3 separate regions of the Homo sapiens genome follow, and regions 1 and 2 are each linked to region 3. The links are contacts of gene promoters, found by promoter capture Hi-C in blood cells and fetal thymus (Javierre and others, 2016). All regions are on one chromosome and are shown on one strand. The core of a region is centred on a gene start or on the middle of the fragment in contact, and the rest is flanking DNA. Distances in the headings are between cores, read along the strand shown.

Evidence for each region. Contacts are between HindIII fragments. The CHiCAGO score rates a contact against its expected background, and 5 or more counts as called.
Region 1: a contact is called between a fragment that was not itself captured here and the fragment with the promoter of SHISAL2B in region 3, in 2 of 17 cell types (total B cells and M2 macrophages). The highest score is 5.5, in total B cells.
Region 2: a fragment that was not itself captured here is called in contact with the fragment with the promoter of SHISAL2B in region 3 in 1 of 17 cell types (M0 macrophages); the score reaches 6.1 in M0 macrophages.

Annotation. Positions count from the first base shown.
Region 1 is chr5:65,493,403-65,496,590 of GRCh38, reverse strand. It overlaps a transcript of CENPK not described here. Among named protein-coding and RNA genes, the nearest start is that of ADAMTS6, 13 kb to the right of the region's middle. The HindIII fragment of the contact is 236 bases long and covers 1,697-1,932 here.
Region 2 is chr5:65,533,675-65,536,958 of GRCh38, reverse strand. The region is part of intron 6 of CENPK (centromere protein K); the gene reads left to right. Among named protein-coding and RNA genes, the nearest start is that of CENPK, 28 kb to the left of the region's middle. The HindIII fragment of the contact is 1,208 bases long and covers 1,286-2,493 here.
Region 3 is chr5:64,688,783-64,691,929 of GRCh38, reverse strand. It overlaps SHISAL2B (shisa like 2B), which reads right to left and starts at 1,427. Exons shown (of 3, transcript NM_001164442.2): 1 at 1,116-1,427. The coding sequence starts at 1,306. RefSeq lists enhancers at 956-1,456, 2,714-3,008, 2,515-3,016 and a silencer at 2,714-3,008. The HindIII fragment of the contact is 3,472 bases long and covers 1-2,676 here.

The DNA.
Region 1 (3,188 bases), core at 565-3,064, 800 kb before region 3:
ATTTTATGAAGTAAAGTGTTTACGTATGCATTTTATGTATATGCTTATAATGTTCTTTATGATTATACTATATAATGAGCTCTGCTTCTTTTACTCTTTGTTGTATTTTTCTCATAACTAGGTAATATTAGAAAAAACATTTTTAAGGCTACTGGATTATTAACAAAGTAGGAGTACCATCATTTATTTTAACAATTTTTCTATTATTGGCTATTGAGGTTGTTCCCAGTCTTTCACTCTTAGAAATAGCACCGTGATCAATGTCTTTATGTAAATTCCTAGAAATAGAGACACTAGGTCAAAGAGTATAAGTGTTTTGTTTTGTTTTGTTTTGTTTGAGACAAGGTCTCTATAGCCCAGGCTGGAATGCAGTGGTATAATCATGGCTCACTGCAACCTCAACCTCCCTGGCTCAAGTGATCCTCCCACCTTAACCTCCTAAGTAGCTGGGACTACAGGTGTGCCCCACCATGCCTGGTTAATTTTTTGTGTTTTTTGTAGAGACGGGGTTTTGCCATGTTGCCCAGACTGGTCTAAAACTTCTGGGCTCAAGCAATCCACTCACCTTGGCCTCCCAGAGTGCTGGAATTACAGGCATGAGCCGCCTTGCCTGGCCACTAAGGCTCTTGATTAATATTGCCAAATGCCTTTCCAGAAAGGTTGAAGCAATTTATACCACCACCAGCAGTGTATGAGAGTGCCCATTTAATGGAACCCTTGCCAACAATGAGTATTTTTTAAAATTTTGTCTATTTGATTATAAAAATCTTGTTTTAATTTATATTTATTGGATTATAAGTGAGATGGAACTTTTTTTCATAGATTACTGGCTGTTTGTATTTCTTCTTTTGTGAATTTTTTGTTTCCTTGATCGTTATTCTAGAACAGTGCTGAATAGACACCTAATGCAAACTGTGTATGTAATTTTATAATAAATTTTCTTGTGGCCTCATTAAACAAGTAAAAAGAAACAGGTGAAATAAATTTTAATGATAAAATTATTTTAGTAATAAAAAATCTTAATAAAATTTATTTAACTACATACACCCCAAATATTATCATTTCAACATTGGCACTAGCTACATTTCAAGTGCTCTTGTGAGTAGTGGCTACCATATTGGACAGTGCAGATTCAGAACGTTTCCATCATAGTGGAAAGTTCAACTGGACAGCACTAGCATGGAGCTAGAGCTTTTGATATTTTTTTATAAGGAAACTTTATATATTTAGTTTTTGTCTATCCTATTTGTTGTAGTTTTTTCCAGTATGCCGTTAACCTTTTAATTTTGTTTATTCTTTTTATTTACTAATATTCAAACAATATAGGTGGATCTGTCATTCTTTCCCTTTGTTGTCTATTCCATTGTTTTAGGTCTACCTATTCCCAGATAGTTAATTCTTCACCTATATTTTCTTCTGTCCCCCCACCCCCATGTTTTTACAGACAGGGCCTCATTATGTTGCTTAGGCTGGGAGTGCAGTGGCTATTCACAGGCATGATCATAGCACACTACAGCCTCAAACTCCTGGCCACAAGCGATCCTCCTGCCTTGGCCTCCCAAGAAGTTAGGACTACAGTGACACACTACTGAACCAGGCTACCCTAGATTTTTTAATGGCTTCATTTGTAATGCAGTTATTTAATCCTGAAATTTATCACATTATTTTAAAAGTGTACCTGATTTATCAAGAAGCTTACTATGGTTGCATGTCTATCAATTTCTCCTTGGAGTTTGTAAGAGTTTCTATTTTAAGTATTTTGATGCTGTGTTATTTAGTGCATAACAGTTCGGGATTGTTGATCATTGTAAAGGACTATGATTCTCCTGGTCCTTTGTAGTAGTTTTTATTTTGACTCTACTTTATTTGAAATTAATATTGTCACCCCTGGTTTGGGTGGCAGTATTTCCCTAAGAAATCATTGCCCAAGCTTTAATTTTTAACCTTCCAATTTTATTTTGCATATACTTTTGTAATTATTGTTTTTGTGTGTGTGTGTGTGTGTGTGTGTTTGTGTTTTTTTTTTTTTTTTGAGACAAAGTCTCACTCTGTCTCCCAGGCTGGAGTGCCAGTGGCATGATCTTGGCTCATTGTAACCTCCACCTCCCAAGTTCAAGTGATTCTCCTGCCTCAGCCTCCTGAGGTAGCTAGGATTACAGACGTCTGCCACCATGCCAAGCTAATTTTACAATTTTAGTAGAGATGGAGTTTCACCATGTTGGCCAGGCTGGTCTCGAATTCCTGGCCTCAAGTGATTCACCCACCTCAGCCTTCCAAAGTGCTGGGATTACAGGCGTGAGCCACTGCACCCAGCCTTTTGTAATTATTTTTGTAACTGTGATTTAATCTTAACTCTGTTAAATTGATTTTTTTTCTTATTGCTGGTCCTTTTATATGTCAATTTCTCCCATTTTTGAGTTGTTATTTTTTATATCACTTAGACTGCTGATATATGCCTTCAATAATTACTTTCAAATACATATCTTATAGTCAGTATTCAATAAATATTGCCTGCATAAAATAATAAATGAATGAATGAAGGAAGGAAGGATGTTAAGCCTTTACACATCATAGAATGTCTTTCTGTTCTGTGGTAAAAAGCGTATGACTTTTTGTTTTATGAAAAGTCTACTTTTTACTCTTGAATGATGGTCTCATGTCTCTCTCTTTTTTTTTCAACAAACAATTTTTTAGCTTTTTTTTTCTTTTAAACATTTAAACATTTTACCAGGATATGTCTAGGTTTTGGTTTCTTTACATTGATTTTACCAGGAAAAGAATGAAACTTTTAATCTTCTAATTTAAGTCATTCTTAAATTCAGGAAGGTTTTTTTCTGGTATGTATTTGTCTGTTTTTGTACAGTTGTTCTGAATCCATTTTTCAGGAATATGACTAATTTTGAGATTGGATCCCAGGTTCTAACCCTCATATCAATAATTAATTTTCATCTGTTTGCTCATTTTATGTATATTTAGAAGGATTTTTGGCAAATGACATAAGATGAGGAATTAAGTTTTTTTTTCTAATTAGCTTGCCTTCTCAAAACTGAAAAAATACACGTTTATTTTCTATATCTTTCATTCTGTTTTTATTTTTTAATTTATTTTTTATTTTTTATTTTTATGGGCACATAGTAGGTGTATATATTTATAGGGCACATGAGATATTTTGATACAGGCATACAATG
Region 2 (3,284 bases), core at 640-3,139, 840 kb before region 3:
TTCTGGCAATTATGGCATTAATCACTTCATGAGGGTGGAGCCCCCACGACCCAATTGCTTCCCAAAGACCCTACCTCTTAACACTGCCACAATGGCAACCAAGTTTCTATAGTCATGGAAATGTAAATAATGGGTCAGGAATGGGAAAAAAGGACAGTTGGAATAATAGAAGAAATAAAGCTAAAGTCGAATTATGAAATTTTACCATTATAAGTTGCAGAATATTAAAAAATCGAAGGCAAGAAATAATAAAATAAATAATACATGGACATTTTCTCAGAATAAAAGATAATTATTCTCCCCCCCAATCCCTACATATATATATATTTTTTCTTTGAAACAGGTTATTACTCTGTTGCCCCGGTTGGAGTGTAGTAAGATTATAGCTGTCTCATCTCAAACTGCTGGGGTCAAATGATCTTCCTGCCTTAGCTTCCCAAGTAGCTAGGAGTACAGGTGTGTGCCACCATGCCTGGCTAATTTTTTTATTTTTTATTTTTGGTTTTTTGTAGAGATGGGATCTCACTATGTTGTTAAGGCTGGTGTTGAATTCCTGGTCTCAAGCAGTCCTTCCACCTTGGCCTCCCAAAGTGCTGAGATTACAGGCGTGAGCCACTGTGCTTGGCTAAGATAACGATTCTTTACATTGAAAAAGATCCACCAAATTTCCAACACAATGAGTTTAGAATGACCCATGGCAGATGATCCAGCAAAATTTTTCCCTTTCATAGCAACTCTTAGCAACCCCAAACTAGCAACTGTAGCTTAGAGTGGCCAGAATCCAAACTTGATGCAGTGCCAGCATCTGTCCCAAAAACTTTCATTTTAGCTATTTTTCATTACAGTTAAAAATAAGAAGGGGATTGTATATTTAGCTTGTTTCTCATTTTACATTTTGTTGTATATTCAGTGAGCCAGCTCTACAGGAGCTGGTTCTATCATTGTATATTTTACTGGTAACTTCTACCTACAGTAACTTATCGCAGTGCAGCTGTTGTTTTATACCATCGGTGACTCAGTAACCATCTGACATCAAACTTTACCCGCCCTGTAATCCTTCCTTTTCTCAAACAGTGCTTTCCTTATGTTTCAGCTAGCAGGAGTTATAGGAAATCTCATTTGTAATGCTAGTTGTGTCAGAGTTTTCTCTAAGACTGCCCTCAGGTGCAATGATTTGTGGGATAGACTCACTGGACTCAGAAGAACTGCTGTTCTCTTGGTTGCAGCTTATTAAAGTGAGAGAGAACATTACAATGAACAAAGGAAAAGGCACATGGGATAAGCTTACAAGAGTTCTTTCCCAGTAGAGTTGTGTGGATGCGCTTAATTCTCCCTGCAACTATGTGTGACGTGGCGAGTTGGCAGCCAGAGAATCTCACTTGAGCCTTGTTTAGGGTTTTTATTGGGAGTCAGTCAGGTATTGTGTAACTGACCTTAACTATGTATACTCCATCCGCATAGAGTAAAAATGCATTTAACACAAATCACATAGTTAGCATAAACTCTCTAATCAAGCTGGTGCCATGTGACCCAAGGTTCTAGACATAGAAAAATGCTCATCAAGTAGAGTATTCCAAGGGCTCAGAGCTTTTTTTCAGGGAACTGACCAAGGGCAGTTCTGAAGACAGGCTTTAGTAATGTCCAAGGTTTTTGCAGTCTAGGTCTGCTGAGTTAACTCTTTCCTGCACAACTGTCTTTTCACCTCCCTCCCTCCCTCCCTTCCATCCTCGACAGGGTTTTGTTCTGTCACTCAGGCTGCACTGCAGTGGCATCATCTCAGTTCGTTGTAACCTTGACCTCAGGCTTAAGGGATTCTCCTACTTAAGGGATTCTCCTACTTCAGCCTCCTGAGTAGCTGGGACTATGGGTGTGCACCACCATGTCTGGCTAAGTTTTGTATTTTTTTGTAGAGATGGGATTTGCAATGTTGCCCAGGCTTGTATGCACTCCTGGGCTCAAGTGATCTGCCTGCTTCAGCCTCCCAAAGTGCTGGAACTACAGGCATGAGCCATGGTGCCCGACTTCTTTTCATTTTCTCTGTGGTGTTTTGGAGAACTTAAGTTCATAATTTGATTAACTCCATTTAATCAAGTTTTCTATTAAGGTCTGAGCTCAAATCTAAGAACTGTTTGCCCAACTCAGAATCACAAAGATATTCTCCTGTATTTTCTGTTAAAAGTTTTTAAGTTTTAGGTTTCAGTATTTAGGTTCATGATCCATTTTGAGTTAATGTTTATGTATATATAGTATGAGTTAGTGATATCGGGTCATTTGTTTTCATTTGGATACTGACTGTTCCAGCGGTATTTGTTGAAGAAACTATCTTTTCTTTTTTGAATTTCCTTTACACTTTTGTTGAAAATTAATGACCATGTATATGTGTATCTATTTCTGAACTCTGTTTTTCTCTATTCTGTGCTTTGGATATTTCTGTTTTTTTGTTCTGTGTTTCTGTCTTTAAGCCAATACCACATTATGTTTTTTACCAAAGCTTTAAAATAAGTCTTGAAATCAAGTATTATGAATTCTCTAACTTTGTTGTTCTTTTCAAAATTGTTTCATATTTCCATGTAACTTTTAGAATTGGTTTGTCATTCTGCCCCATAAAAAGCTGGAACTTTGATTGAAATTTCCCTGAATCATAGGTTAATTTGTGGAAGATTGCTATCTTTAACATACTTAGTCTGAATGCAGATCCATTAGCACTGTATCATCTTTGTATTTATTTAGGTCCCCATTTATTTGATATTTAAACATTTTGTCTCACCAGTGTTTTGTAGTTTTCAGCATACAGGTCTTGCACATCTTTTGTCAAGTTCATCCCTTTATTATTTCATAATTTTGACTATTAAATGGTATTCTTTTAAATTTCAATTTTTTTCTTTTTCCTTTTTTTTTTTTTTTTTTTGTTGAGACGGTGTCTCGCTCTGTCACCCAGGCTAGAGTGCAGTGGTGCCATCTGAGCTCACTGCAAGCTCCACCTCCCGGGTTCACGCCATTCTCCTGCCTCAGCCTCCCAGGTAGCTGGGACTACAGGCATCCGCCACTAGTGCGCCTGGCTAATTTTGTTTTGTATTTTTAGTAGAGATGGGGTTTCACCATTTTAGCCAGGATGGTCTCGATCTCCTGACCTCATGATCTGCCCACCTTGGCCTCCCAAAGTGATGGGATTTCAGGCTTGAGGCACTGCACCCGGCCTTAAATTTCAATTTTTATTTATTACTAATAAATACAAATACAATTAATATGTATATATTGATTTTGTATCCAGTGAACTTGAGAAA
Region 3 (3,147 bases), core at 178-2,677:
TTGGCATGTGTGTTAAATTCTGGGTCATGTAGGAGACTGGGAGACATAATCACAATACTTTACCTCTTACTAGCAGACTCCATCTCCTCCAACCCCATAAACTAATGAATATGTACAAAACAATTTAAGGTGGGAGCTCGTTCCTTGATTGTTGAACCCCATTCATTCTTCAAGCAAAATGAAAAATCAAGTTTAAAGTTTGCAGCCCTTCAGAGTGGAAGTGGGAAAAGCAATTCATAATGAAAATGTCTACATCAATACTAGTTGGAATAAGTAAAATAAAATTGCCACTATGGGAAAAAGAAACAAGAAAGACCTCACCTTAGAAAGTCTCTTCACATTCCAGCAATAGCCACATGGCTCGGGTTTCAAGAAAGGGGGTGTCCTGTTCTACAGAGTGTGTGTATAATCATAGCAACCAAAAGCTGTACCTTTCTTGGTGTCGCTTCAATTCTCTCCAGGGTAGGGGTCAGATCCTCCAAAAAGTGCAAGTCGTAAAGCCCAGTTGCTTGCACAGGCCCTCAGGAACACACACACACACACACACACACACACTTTTAAAAATATACATGTATTTTAAAGAACACAGCCAATTCCTTCACACCCCTCAAAGAGTCTTAAAATACTCTGGTCCTTGTTAATGCAGTAAGAAGAGCCCCATAGGAGCCTCCTTTCTCTTCAAATACACCAGATAAACCAAAAAGAGGATTTTAAACCTTCCCCTTGGGTTATCTTCCTGTCCTCGCGCTCCACCAGTAGGGCTATCAGCCTGGGACTGGTCCCGGCGAGGGGAGAGCAGTCGGCTCCCGGGAGGCGGGCGGGGAACTCAGCGGGGCCAGCCAGGCGGGCCCCAAGTGCGCCCTGGGCGCAAAGCCCGCGCTCCTCCAGCGTGCGCCTCGCCTCCTGTCCTGGCTCCCGGGGGAGCTCCGAGCCGGGGCGAGATTTCTCTCCCTGCCCTCACCCGCCCTCAGAGGCTCCGCGTCCTTCCGTAGGGACCTAACCTAGGGCGGATAGCGGGGACGCGGGGGAACCTCCCTGGCCCTGGCGTGGCTCCGCTTGTCGCCTCCCTAGCCCCGGGCTCGGCCAGCCGCCGCACGCGCGGGCTCTCAGCCCACCTGAGGCTCCACATGTAGCTGTGCTTGTAGGGGAAGTAGCTGCCCGGCTCGCTGCAGCAGTACTTGAGGTCGGCGAAGCCGCAGCAATACTGGAGCGCTGCCCCCTCGCCGCGCCGGGGGCACTGGAAGGGCTCCACGAAGCTCTGGTTGAGGCTGTAGTAGCCGGAGCACAGTCGGCTGGCCTCGCTCATCGCGGGCAGGGGCCGGGAGAGGCTCGCGAGGGCCCCGGTCTGCTCTCGGATCGCACCCGTCCAGCACCTCCAGAGCCCGCGGACCCCTCTGCCCGGACTCGGCTCTTCCGATCTGGGCTCTGGCTGCCTGGGCGCTCAGCCTTCGCGCGCCACCTCTGATTTCTCTCCTCCCCTTGTCCACATGGTGTCTGGGCGCCTTACTCTCGCCTCTCCCTCTCGCTGCTGAGCGGTCGCTCCTTTTATCCGCCCATCTCGGCGCCGACTCTCCTCCACTTTCCCTCACTTCATCAGCAGCCTGGAGACCTTAGCTGTCCCCACTCGATGCCAGAAAGAGCTTTCTCCAGAGGGAAAAAAGAAGAGGTGGGACATGTTTTCAGTGCAGGCAGATGCTGCCTAAGTTGCAGTTTTCCTGTCTAGGGACAGGGCAGGTGGATTCTGGGCAAACAGACTGGGTCTGGTGGAGACTTAACTGCCCGGCCATTGACTCAAGGAGTGGAGGAGAGGACCAGATAAAAGGCAGCTGAACACCAGAGAGGCGGAGTTGGTGTTCTCTTTCTTTGAGAAGTAAATGTGAAACATTAAGATCTGCCCATTTAAAAATAAAAAACAAGAAACAAAGTCTCCTGTAACAACTGGCCATGGTGCAGTTGCATTCGGTGTTCAGCTGAAAAATCCAGAAAGTTTAAGAAACGCAAGACATGAAGGTAAAGAAAGTGAGAACTTTCTAGAGAGGGAGGCAGCCAGAGGAAAAAAAAAAGGCAAAGGAAATAGGGAGAAAGAGACCTTCAGTCAGTTTTGATGTGCTGTAGGAACTTCTTTTGTCTCCTTTTTGTTTGATATTCCCATTTTCTTGATTGGTTTGTTCACAAAGCCTTTTTAAAATAACGATGATAATGCATGCTTATTGTGATAAGCCAAACAATGCTTGGGTGTATAAACAAAAAGGTAATAATAGTCTTACGATGGGAGAGGAGGCGATTATAACATTCATAAAATGTACAAGATAGAGCATTGTTTCTCCCTCTTCATTTCTGCTTCCTTCCCTTGGCCAGGGGCTTGATTGGATCCCAGACGTCGAATTTTACCTTGTTGGGTACTGGATGTTTTTGCATTCCTATAAATACTCTTGAGCTTTGTACTGGGATGCAGGAAACAGTTTGAGTCTTTCGGGTTTGTTTTTAATATTTGTTAGGCTGGACTAGATTAGCCTTTAGGACTGAATTTTTCCCCACTACTGAGGCAATACCCTTCGAATTATTCTACCCAAAACTTGTGAATTATAGGGCTTACCATTGTGACTGGTGGGAACACATAAAACACAGAAAAATCCAGAGACAGGCATGACCACAGAGGCCAAATTTCACCAAGCTTGGAGTATCTTGAGGCCTCTGAAGTTCAAACCAACAAAGGAGCCTTTTACCATATGAAGCTTAAGGGCAGTGTTAAGACTGCGGCTTTAACCAGTTAGGAAATTGCTTGACCTTGCCTGCTGTGTAGTCCCCTGTGACTTAGTCCCCAGTTATCTTCCTCCAGGCAGGAGGAGTTCTGATAGGGAGTAGGGTGGGGCTGATCCCGCACCAAAAGATAGCCATCGATTACATCTTTTATTTTCTCTTCTTCTTGTGTCACAAAGGTGATACTCCCCTTTAGAGAATATTCTGGAAATAAGGAGACATTTTTGGTTGTCATGATGACACTGTCCTGGCATTGAGGGATGTGGGTCAGGGATGCTAGACATCCTGACCCCCTGCAACATGTACAGGAAAATGAAGAACTGTATGTGACTTTCAAATGTTCTACAGGACATTCATGTAGATGAAAAACCTACTTACAATTGTCTG